Linked DNA regions of Homo sapiens: region 2 is linked to region 1. Evidence: promoter capture Hi-C in human tissues and cell types (Jung and others, 2019). All regions are on one chromosome and are shown on one strand. Each heading gives the region's core, a stretch centred on a gene start or on the middle of the fragment in contact. The rest is flanking DNA. Distances are from core to core; before and after follow the strand shown.

What was found. The method cuts DNA at HindIII sites, captures the fragments that hold promoters and counts their contacts. A contact is called where the count stands out against the background at its distance.
Region 2: a contact is called between the fragment with the promoter of TRIM28 here and a fragment that was not itself captured in region 1, in 1 of the 25 tissues and cell types used here (spleen).

Annotation. Positions count from the first base shown.
Region 1 is chr19:58,313,694-58,318,029 of GRCh38, forward strand. ERVK3-1 (endogenous retrovirus group K3 member 1) reads left to right here. Exons shown (of 4, transcript NM_001396080.1): 4 at 1,055-3,119. The coding sequence ends at 1,090. It overlaps ZNF8-ERVK3-1 (ZNF8-ERVK3-1 readthrough (NMD candidate)), which reads left to right. Exons shown (of 7, transcript NR_144447.1): 7 at 1,055-1,964. It overlaps LOC105372480 (a long non-coding RNA gene), which reads right to left. Exons shown (of 3, transcript NR_144444.1): 3 at 1,257-1,343. Among named protein-coding and RNA genes, the nearest start is that of ERVK3-1, 10 kb to the left of the region's middle. The HindIII fragment of the contact is 5,451 bases long and covers 1-4,336 here.
Region 2 is chr19:58,541,486-58,545,839 of GRCh38, forward strand. It overlaps TRIM28 (tripartite motif containing 28), which reads left to right and starts at 2,579. Exons shown (of 17, transcript NM_005762.3): 1 at 2,579-3,612; 2 at 3,940-4,052; 3 at 4,279-4,354. The coding sequence starts at 3,273. It also overlaps the pseudogene RN7SL525P. RefSeq lists enhancers at 1,754-2,258, 2,410-2,719 and silencers at 2,840-3,049, 3,130-3,289, 3,310-3,599. The HindIII fragment of the contact is 31,195 bases long and covers 1-4,354 here.

The sequences.
Region 1 (4,336 bases), core at 650-3,149:
CTCAATCATAGCACAATACAAACACACAACATATCCACTCTAATAATTCTGGGTCGTATCCCTGGATTATGGATCCCTGTCAATTTGTGCAAACCTTGGGCTGCCACCCCTGCTTTACATTTTGTAAAACTCCTTCTTACCCAGCTCACTCATCGTGCACGTAAAGCCTTAAACATAGTAATTTTTACTGTAATCTCCTTAGTCACACTAATAACCTCGGTTGTAGTGTCCTCAGTAGCACTACATAGTTCTATTCAAACAGCCCAATATGTAGAAAATTGGACATGTACAGCCAACCAGGCATGGATGCTTCAAAATAAAATTAATACCGAATTACAAACAAAGGTAGCAATGTTAAAGGCTACTGTTCTGTGGCTGGGAAAGCAGGTACAAAGTTTGCAATTGTAGCAGCAATTGCACTGTCATTTCAATCATATTCATATTTGTGTGACCAATTTGGAATAGAACCAAAGTGAATATCCATGGAACCTTGTAAAAGCTCATTTGCAGGGAGCTTTTACATCCAATATTACTTTTGATATCAGTAACTTACAGAGTAAAATTCTTAACTTGAATAAGCAAACTCAAAAATAACAGCCCTTTTTAGAAGCTTAAACAGAATTCCAGCAGGGCTTAGAAAGCCTCAACCCTGGCCGGGTGCGGTGGCTCACGCCTATAATCCCAGCACTTTGGGAGGCCGAGGCAGGCAGATCACGAGGTCAGAAGATCGAGACCATCCTGGCTAAAACAGTGAAACCCCATCTCTACTAAAAATACAAAAAAATTAGCTGGGTGTGGTGGCGGGCACCTGTAGTCCCAGCTAATCAGGAGGCTGAGGTGGGAGAATGACGTGAACCCGGGAGGCAGAGCTTGCAGTGAGCCAAGATGGCGCCACTGCACTCCAGCCTGGGTGACAGAGCGAGACTCCATCTCAAAAAAAAAAAAAAAAAAAAAAAAGCCTCAACCCTTGGACCTACCTTAAACATAACTTCAATGTCTCTTTTATAATAATTACAAGAATAATGTTGTTATGTCTCTGTTTTTTTGCTCATAGTCTATAGGATCGGGTGAACCACCAACCGGCAATTGAAAGCTGCACAGCCTGAAATTACCTTTATTCAATTAATGCAAAAACAAAAGGGGAGATGTTGGAGGCCGAAGGAATGAGGGTCGTGACCAACTCAGTATACCACTGGAGGCTCTGTGAGCAAACAGCAAACTGTTCTCATGAAAGCAGGATGTTGGCGAACTGACAAACTCTGTCTGCCGCCAGAAGGAATGCTGGGGGCAGTCATGTCCCAGGTCCCGTGCTCCTTGAGGTTATCCACAGGAACATCCAGAACCTGTTGAACAAAGAAAGGAATCATGTGGGCCTGTGTTAAATCAAATAGCTGACCGACAGTTATCCCTTCCTCCCTATTCACTCTACCTAATAAATATGAAGGGCTGTAAAAGCTCAGGTCCCTGTTCCCTAATATCAAGGAGCCCCCTGACCCCTTCTTTCAAACAGATCCTTTTGTCTGTCTCATTTCTGCATTCGTCGTCCTTCGTTCGGTCCAGAAGCAACCGCGACAGTCCTGCATGTGTTGATGCCACCTGTATGTGCAGGTGTGACCTCAGGTGTGTGAGTATCCCTCATACCCCTTATCATCACTGCCTATTCGCTCTTCCTCCAGCCTCTGGCAACCACTAATCCACGTTATATGTCTAGATTTGCCTCTTCTGGACACTTCATATAAATGGAGTCATACAATATGTGGTTTCTTGTGTCTGGCTTTTTACCACTGAACGTTTTCAGAGTTCATCCATGTTGTAGCATGTATCAGTTTTTCATTCCTCTTTATGGCTGAATAATACTGCATTGTATGGATATACCACAGTTTGTTTACTCATTAGTTCATAGACATTGGGGTTGTTTCCAACTCTCTGATATTATAAATGCTACTGCTGTGAAAATTCATGTACAGGTGTTTGTGTGGATGTATATTTTTAATTTGGGAAGGGGAGGCCATGGGTGGGACCTAGGCTTGTGAAGAGCCTGGCCTGGGTGTATCTGTTTGTCCGAGGAGTGCCTGTATGCATGGCCATGACCACACCCACTCCTTGCTGCCTGTGCTCATTAGCCATACTTCATTTTCCAGAATCCCAGGCCTGGGCCCCTGAAGTCAAAGCCAGGAGCCTAGAGCCACACTGATGTGTAGGATCAAAGAGAAGGCGGCAGTGGCCCTGGAAACAAACCTGTCTCTGCAAGAGTCACTAGCAACCTGGGACCTCTGCCCAGGACTGAGACCTCGGGTGCCCCCTACCCTGTAGCTGCTGAGGCCAAGCAATGTGGAGACAGAGAGAGGGTGAGGTGATGGAGCCTGAGGTGCCGAGTGAGGTAGATGGTGGGGTGGCAGTCACAGTGGCACAGGAGGCAGGTACAGGGCTAGATGTTTTCAGAAACCAGATATCCCTCTAAAACACACCCTGCTTCTGCTGCCTTCATTCCACTGCCCTGCCTTCCTCAGCCTGCTCTACACCACTACCTCCTCATGGTTCTCCTGCCTCCCGTTGCCCCCTTCATCACTCTCCACTCAGCATTGGGTAGAGAGGGTCTTTTACCCCTGACTGATGAGGCCACCCCTCTCTTTAAACCCTCCATCACTGCCCAGGCCATCAGAGTATGGTTGGCAAACTCTTCTGTAAAACACAAGCAGCAGGCTGGGCGCAGTGGCTCATGCCTGTAATCCCAGCATTTTGGGAGGCTGAGGCAGGCCTGAGGTTGGGCCTATGAGACCAGCCTGGCCAACATGGTGAAACCCTGTCTCTACTAAAAATACAAAAAATTAGCTGGGCGTGGTGATGCATGCCTGTAATCCCAGCTACTCGGGAGGCTGAGGCAGGTGAATCGCTTGTTCCCAGGACATAGAGATTGTGGTGAGCCAAGATCGTGCCTTTGCACTCCAGCCTGGGCAACGAGCGAAACTCTGTCTCAAAAACCAAACAAAAAACACACAAGCAGCAAATGTCAGCTTTGTAGGCTCAGAGAGAAAACCAAGAATGTTACAAAGGTACCTATCTAACAAGAGAAAAACATGTCCATACATTTTATTAATAAAATCCAAAACTTTGTTAAATGTAATTCATTCCTTAATGAGCAAAAAGCTTTTCACAGGAGGTTCCATTTTATAGATAGGAAACAGACCCCAAGGGAGGTGAGCAGCCCAGAATTACAGCAGAGAGTGGTGAAGATTTGATCCTAGATCTGACAGCCTCTACCATCATACTTGCCATTCTCAGCTTAGGAATAAGATGGGGAGGAAGGTGTGGGTAATGGGCAAATCAGGGCCCAAATAGTCTGTTCAGTACTCTTGTCTCGTGGGAAGGAACAAAAGGCCCCACATCTGCCCTTCCTCCTGGGAGTCTCTGTTAGGACCTGAATTCAGTACAGCAGGAATGATCAATTTTTCTCTTTAGAGCACTCACCCACTTGACATCTCACTTTGTTCTCACATAGTCCTCATAGAGGTATCCTGTGGCTGCTGTCCTTGAAGCCTGATAGCATGGAGCTGAGGCCTCAGACTATAACAGGGCACATAATTTTCATGAAGTTCAAGAAGAGGCTGGGCTGGGCGCGGTGGCTCATGCCTGTAGTCCTAGCACTTTGGGAGGCCAAGGAGGGTAGATCACCTGAGGTCAGGAATTCGAGACCAGCCTGGCTGACGTGGCAAAACCCTGTCTCTACTAAAAATACAAAAATTATCCTGGCATGGTGGCAGGTGCCTATAATCCCAGCTACTCGGGAGGCTGAGGCAGGAGAAGCGCTTGAATCCGGGGGGCAGAGCTTCCAATGAGCCAAGATTGCACTATTTCACCCCAGCCTGGACAAAAGAGGAAAACTACGTCTTAAAAAAAAAAAAAAAAAATTAGGCTGGGACACCTTTCCTGGAAGGGCTACTTACTACAGGGGAGCTGTCTAAGGTGCTGAAATGTCCTAGCCCTGCGCTGTCCAATATGGTAGTTATGATTAAATTCAAATAAAATTACAAGTTCCATGTCCCAGTCACACCAGCTATGTTTCCAGTACTCAGGAGCTACCTGACACTGATGGTGCCATATTGGACAGCACAACTCCAGAACTTTTCCATCCTCACAGAACATTCTAGAATTTAATTTGAATGCTAGTTACACAGGGCTGTGCATTTACCAAATTCACTAAGCTGAGCACTTGTAATTCTGTAAAACATGTATATGTATTTTTGAAAGCACAAAGTTTCACGTCCCCGCCTGCCAGTCACTTTACCAAACAACCTTTGGTTTAACTTCTCTGTGCCCCAGTTTCCCAACCTGTAAA
Region 2 (4,354 bases), core at 1,329-3,828, 230 kb after region 1:
GGATTCTCTCCACACACACCCTGCTTCCCTCCTCAGACAGGATTCTCCCCACACACACCCTGCTTCCCTCCTCAGACAGGATTCTCCCCACAGAGACCCTGCTTCCCTCCTCAGACAGGATTCTCCTCACACACACCCTGCTTCCCTCCTCAGACAGGATTCTCCCCACACACACCCTGCTTCCCTCCTCAGACAGGATTCTCCCCACACACACCCTGCTTCCCTCCTCAGACAGGATTCTCCCCACACACACCCCGCTTCCCTCAGACAGGATTCTCCCCACACAGACCCTGCTTCCCTCCTCAGACAGGATTTTCCCCACACACACCCTGCTTCCCTCCTCAGACAGGATTCTCCCCACACAGACCCTGCTTCCCTCCTCAGACAGGGCTCCCCTCCCCACACAGACCCTCTTTCCCTCAGACAGGATTTTCCCCACACAAACCCTACTTTCCTCCTCAGACAGGATTCTCCCCACACAGACCCTGCTTCCCTCAGACAGGATTCTCCCCACACAGACCCTGCTTCCCTCCTCAGGCAGGATTCTCCCCACACAGACCCTGCTTCCCTCCTCAGACAGGATTCTCCCCACACAGACCCTGCTTCCCTCCTCAGACAGGATTCTCCCCACACAGACCCTGCTTCCCTCCTCAGACAGGATTCTCACCCCACACACCCTGCTTCCCTCCTCAGACAGGATTCTCCCCACACACACCCTGCTTCCCTCCTCAGACAGGATTCTCCCCACACAGACCCTGCTTCCCTCCTCAGACAGGGATTCCCCTCCCCACACAGACCCTCTTTCCCTCAGACAGGATTTTCCCCCCACACACCCTGCTTCCCTCCTCAGACAGGATTCTCCCCACATACACCCTGCTTCCCTCCTCAGACAGGATTCTCCCCACACACACCCTGCTTCCCTCCTCAGACAGGATTCTCCCCACACAGACCCTGCTTCCCTCCTCAGACAGGGCTCCCCTCCCCACACAGACCCTCTTTCCCTCAGACAGGATTTTCCCCACACACACCCTACTTTCCTCCTCAGACAGGATTCTCCCCACACAGACCCTGCTTCCCTCAGACAGGATTCTCCCCACTCAGACCCTGCTTCCCTCCTCAGGCAGGATTCTCCCCACACAGAACCTGCTTCCCTCCTCAGACAGGATTCTCCCCACACACACCCTGCTTCCCTCCTCAGACAGGATTCTCCCCACACACACCCTGCTTCCCTCCTCAGACAGGATTCTCCCCACACAGACGCTGCTTCCCTCCTCAGACAGGATTCTCCCCACACAGACCCTGCTTCCCTCCTCAGACAGGGTTCCCCTCCGCACACACACCCTCTTTCCCTCAGACAGGATTTTCCCCACACAAACCCTACTTTCCACCTCAGACAGGATTCTCCCCACATGGACCTGCTTCCTTCCCTCCTTGGGATTCCCCACTGTTGAGGTTCAGTTTCCCCATCTGGAAAAGCATCAAAGTCAGGGTAGCTGCTGACGAAAACATGGGGAGGGGATGCCTTGGGGGGCTGGGTGGGATTTCACAGACTCATTGCTCTTTAGCCTCTTGTGATTTATATATATGTGTATATATATATATATATTTTTTTTCTTGATGGGGGGTTGGGGGGCCCGGCGTGGTGGCTCACACCTGTAATTCCAGCACTTTGGGAGGCCAAAGTGGGTCTATCATCTGACGTCGGGAGTTCGAGACCAGCCTGGCCAACGTGGTGAAACCCCGTCTCTATTAAAAATACAAAAATTAGCCAGGCGTGATGGCAGGCCCCTGTAATCCCAGCTACTCGGGAGGCTGAGGCAGAAGAATCGCTTGAACCCGGGAGGCGGAGGTTGCAGCGAGCCGAGATCGTGCCACTGCACTCCAGCCTGGGCAACAGAGCAAAACTCCGTCTCAAAACAAACACAAAAACCTTTCTCTCCTCTTTTGAGATGGAGTTTCACTCTTTTCTCCCAGGCTGTAGTGCAATGGCACGATCTCGGCTCACTGCAACCTCCGCCTCCCGGGTTCAAGCGATTCTCCTGCCTCAGCCTCCCGAGTAGCTGGGATTACAGGCGCCTGCCACCACGCCCGGCTACTTTTTGTACTTTTAGTAGAGACGGGGTTTCACCACGTTGGCCAGGCTGCTCTCGAACTCCTGACTTAAGATCCAACCGCCTCGACCTCCCAAAGTGCTGGAATTACAGGCGTGAGCCGCCGCGCCCGGCCACATTTTTCTCCATCTGTGGTCTAGGCTGGCGTGCAGTGGCACAATCCCGCCTCACTGCTGCCTCGGCCTCCTGGGCTAAACGGAGCTTCCCGACTCGCCTAAGAAAGTGGTGGGATTACAGGTATGAGCCACGGCGCCCGGCTGTGATCTACATTTGATTCAGTCAAGTTTCTGTGTTTCTCAAGTTTAACTATAGCGTGGTTAAAATCCAAAAGTCAGCACCCGAGCTCACACAGGAGCTTCCTCCCTCTTGGGATGGAGACTCTCCTCCCCTCTCCCTGGACACAGCCCTTCACTCGGTCTTGGCCCCGCCTACTTCTCCATCGGCCCTGCCCCCTATCCCGAACTCTTAGTGACGCAGAGGCTGGAGACGACTCTACGGCGGCGAAGAGACGCGGGTTGAGGAAGAGGGACGGATTGCCCATGCGCTTGGGCGCACAGCGGCCCGCTTCTGTGTGGTCTGGAGGTGGAGCTGAGAGGGGAATCACACTCTATAAAGGTTCGCATACCCCACTGGCGGATTCAATTGCGGCAGTGACGTCACAGAGGCCCCGCCCCGCCCCCACAAGAGCCCCACCGACGTGGGGTTGGCGGTGGTGGAAGGACTAGGAGTTGGCGCGTGCGTACTGGCGGCCTCTCCCGCACCGACCGGCCTGGGCCCCGCCCCCGGGCGTGAGGCGCCCAATGCGCGTGCGCGGCGGCGTCGGCGCCAGTTATTTCTGTCCCGCCCCCCGGCCTCGGCTCTTTCTGCGAGCGGGCGCGCGGGCGAGCGGTTGTGCTTGTGCTTGTGGCGCGTGGTGCGGGTTTCGGCGGCGGCTGAGGAAGAAGCGCGGGCGGCGCCTTCGGGAGGCGAGCAGGCAGCAGTTGGCCGTGCCGTAGCAGCGTCCCGCGCGCGGCGGGCAGCGGCCCAGGAGGCGCGTGGCGGCGCTCGGCCTCGCGGCGGCGGCGGCGGCAGCGGCCCAGCAGTTGGCGGCGAGCGCGTCTGCGCCTGCGCGGCGGGCCCCGCGCCCCTCCTCCCCCCCTGGGCGCCCCCGGCGGCGTGTGAATGGCGGCCTCCGCGGCGGCAGCCTCGGCAGCAGCGGCCTCGGCCGCCTCTGGCAGCCCGGGCCCGGGCGAGGGCTCCGCTGGCGGCGAAAAGCGCTCCACCGCCCCTTCGGCCGCAGCCTCGGCCTCTGCCTCAGCCGCGGCGTCGTCGCCCGCGGGGGGCGGCGCCGAGGCGCTGGAGCTGCTGGAGCACTGCGGCGTGTGCAGAGAGCGCCTGCGACCCGAGAGGGAGCCCCGCCTGCTGCCCTGTTTGCACTCGGCCTGTAGTGCCTGCTTAGGGCCCGCGGCCCCCGCCGCCGCCAACAGCTCGGGGGACGGCGGGGCGGCGGGCGACGGCACCGGTAAGTACGAAGTGATCGGTGCCACCCCTCCCCCTACTCTCTGCCTTTGATTCCGACTGGGTGCAGAGATGAGGATGCCACCTGGGCGAGAGGATGGGGGCCCGGACAGGGCACGGGAAATACTTTCTGGGTCCTGCATACGAACGTGGGTTTGTGCTGGCCGCTGAGATGGGACATCTGACTAAAGTTGGAGAAAAGAAGGCTCGGGGAGGGGAGGGGCTGGTTCGCTGCGGGATAATGGTCGGGGGCCCACCCAGCAGGGGAATGGTGGGGGCCATAACCTGGGTGGGAACTTGTAACAGTCTCCCACATCCCTGCTTCTCGAAGTGGTGGACTGTCCCGTGTGCAAGCAACAGTGCTTCTCCAAAGACATCGTGGAGAATTATTTCATGCGTGATAGTGGCAGCAAGGCTGCCACCGACGCCCAGGATGCGAACCAGGTGCGTCCTATCTCAGCAACCACAAGGAGGTTTCTGGGGAGGGGGCATCTGCGCAGGAGGAGCTTGGCACCAGCTCCAGGCTGTTACTCCACTTTCCCAAGGCTCTGGGTGGGCTGCCTAGGTTGGGTCAAGGGACCAATCTTAAATCTCCGGTTGTATTTTCTGGGATGTAAACGTGGATCTATCAAGTTGTCTTGCCTTCTCTGACCCTGCCTTTGTCTGGCAGTGCTGCACTAGCTGTGAGGATAATGCCCCAGCCACCAGCTACTGTGTGGAGTGCTCGGAGCCTCTGTGTGAGACCT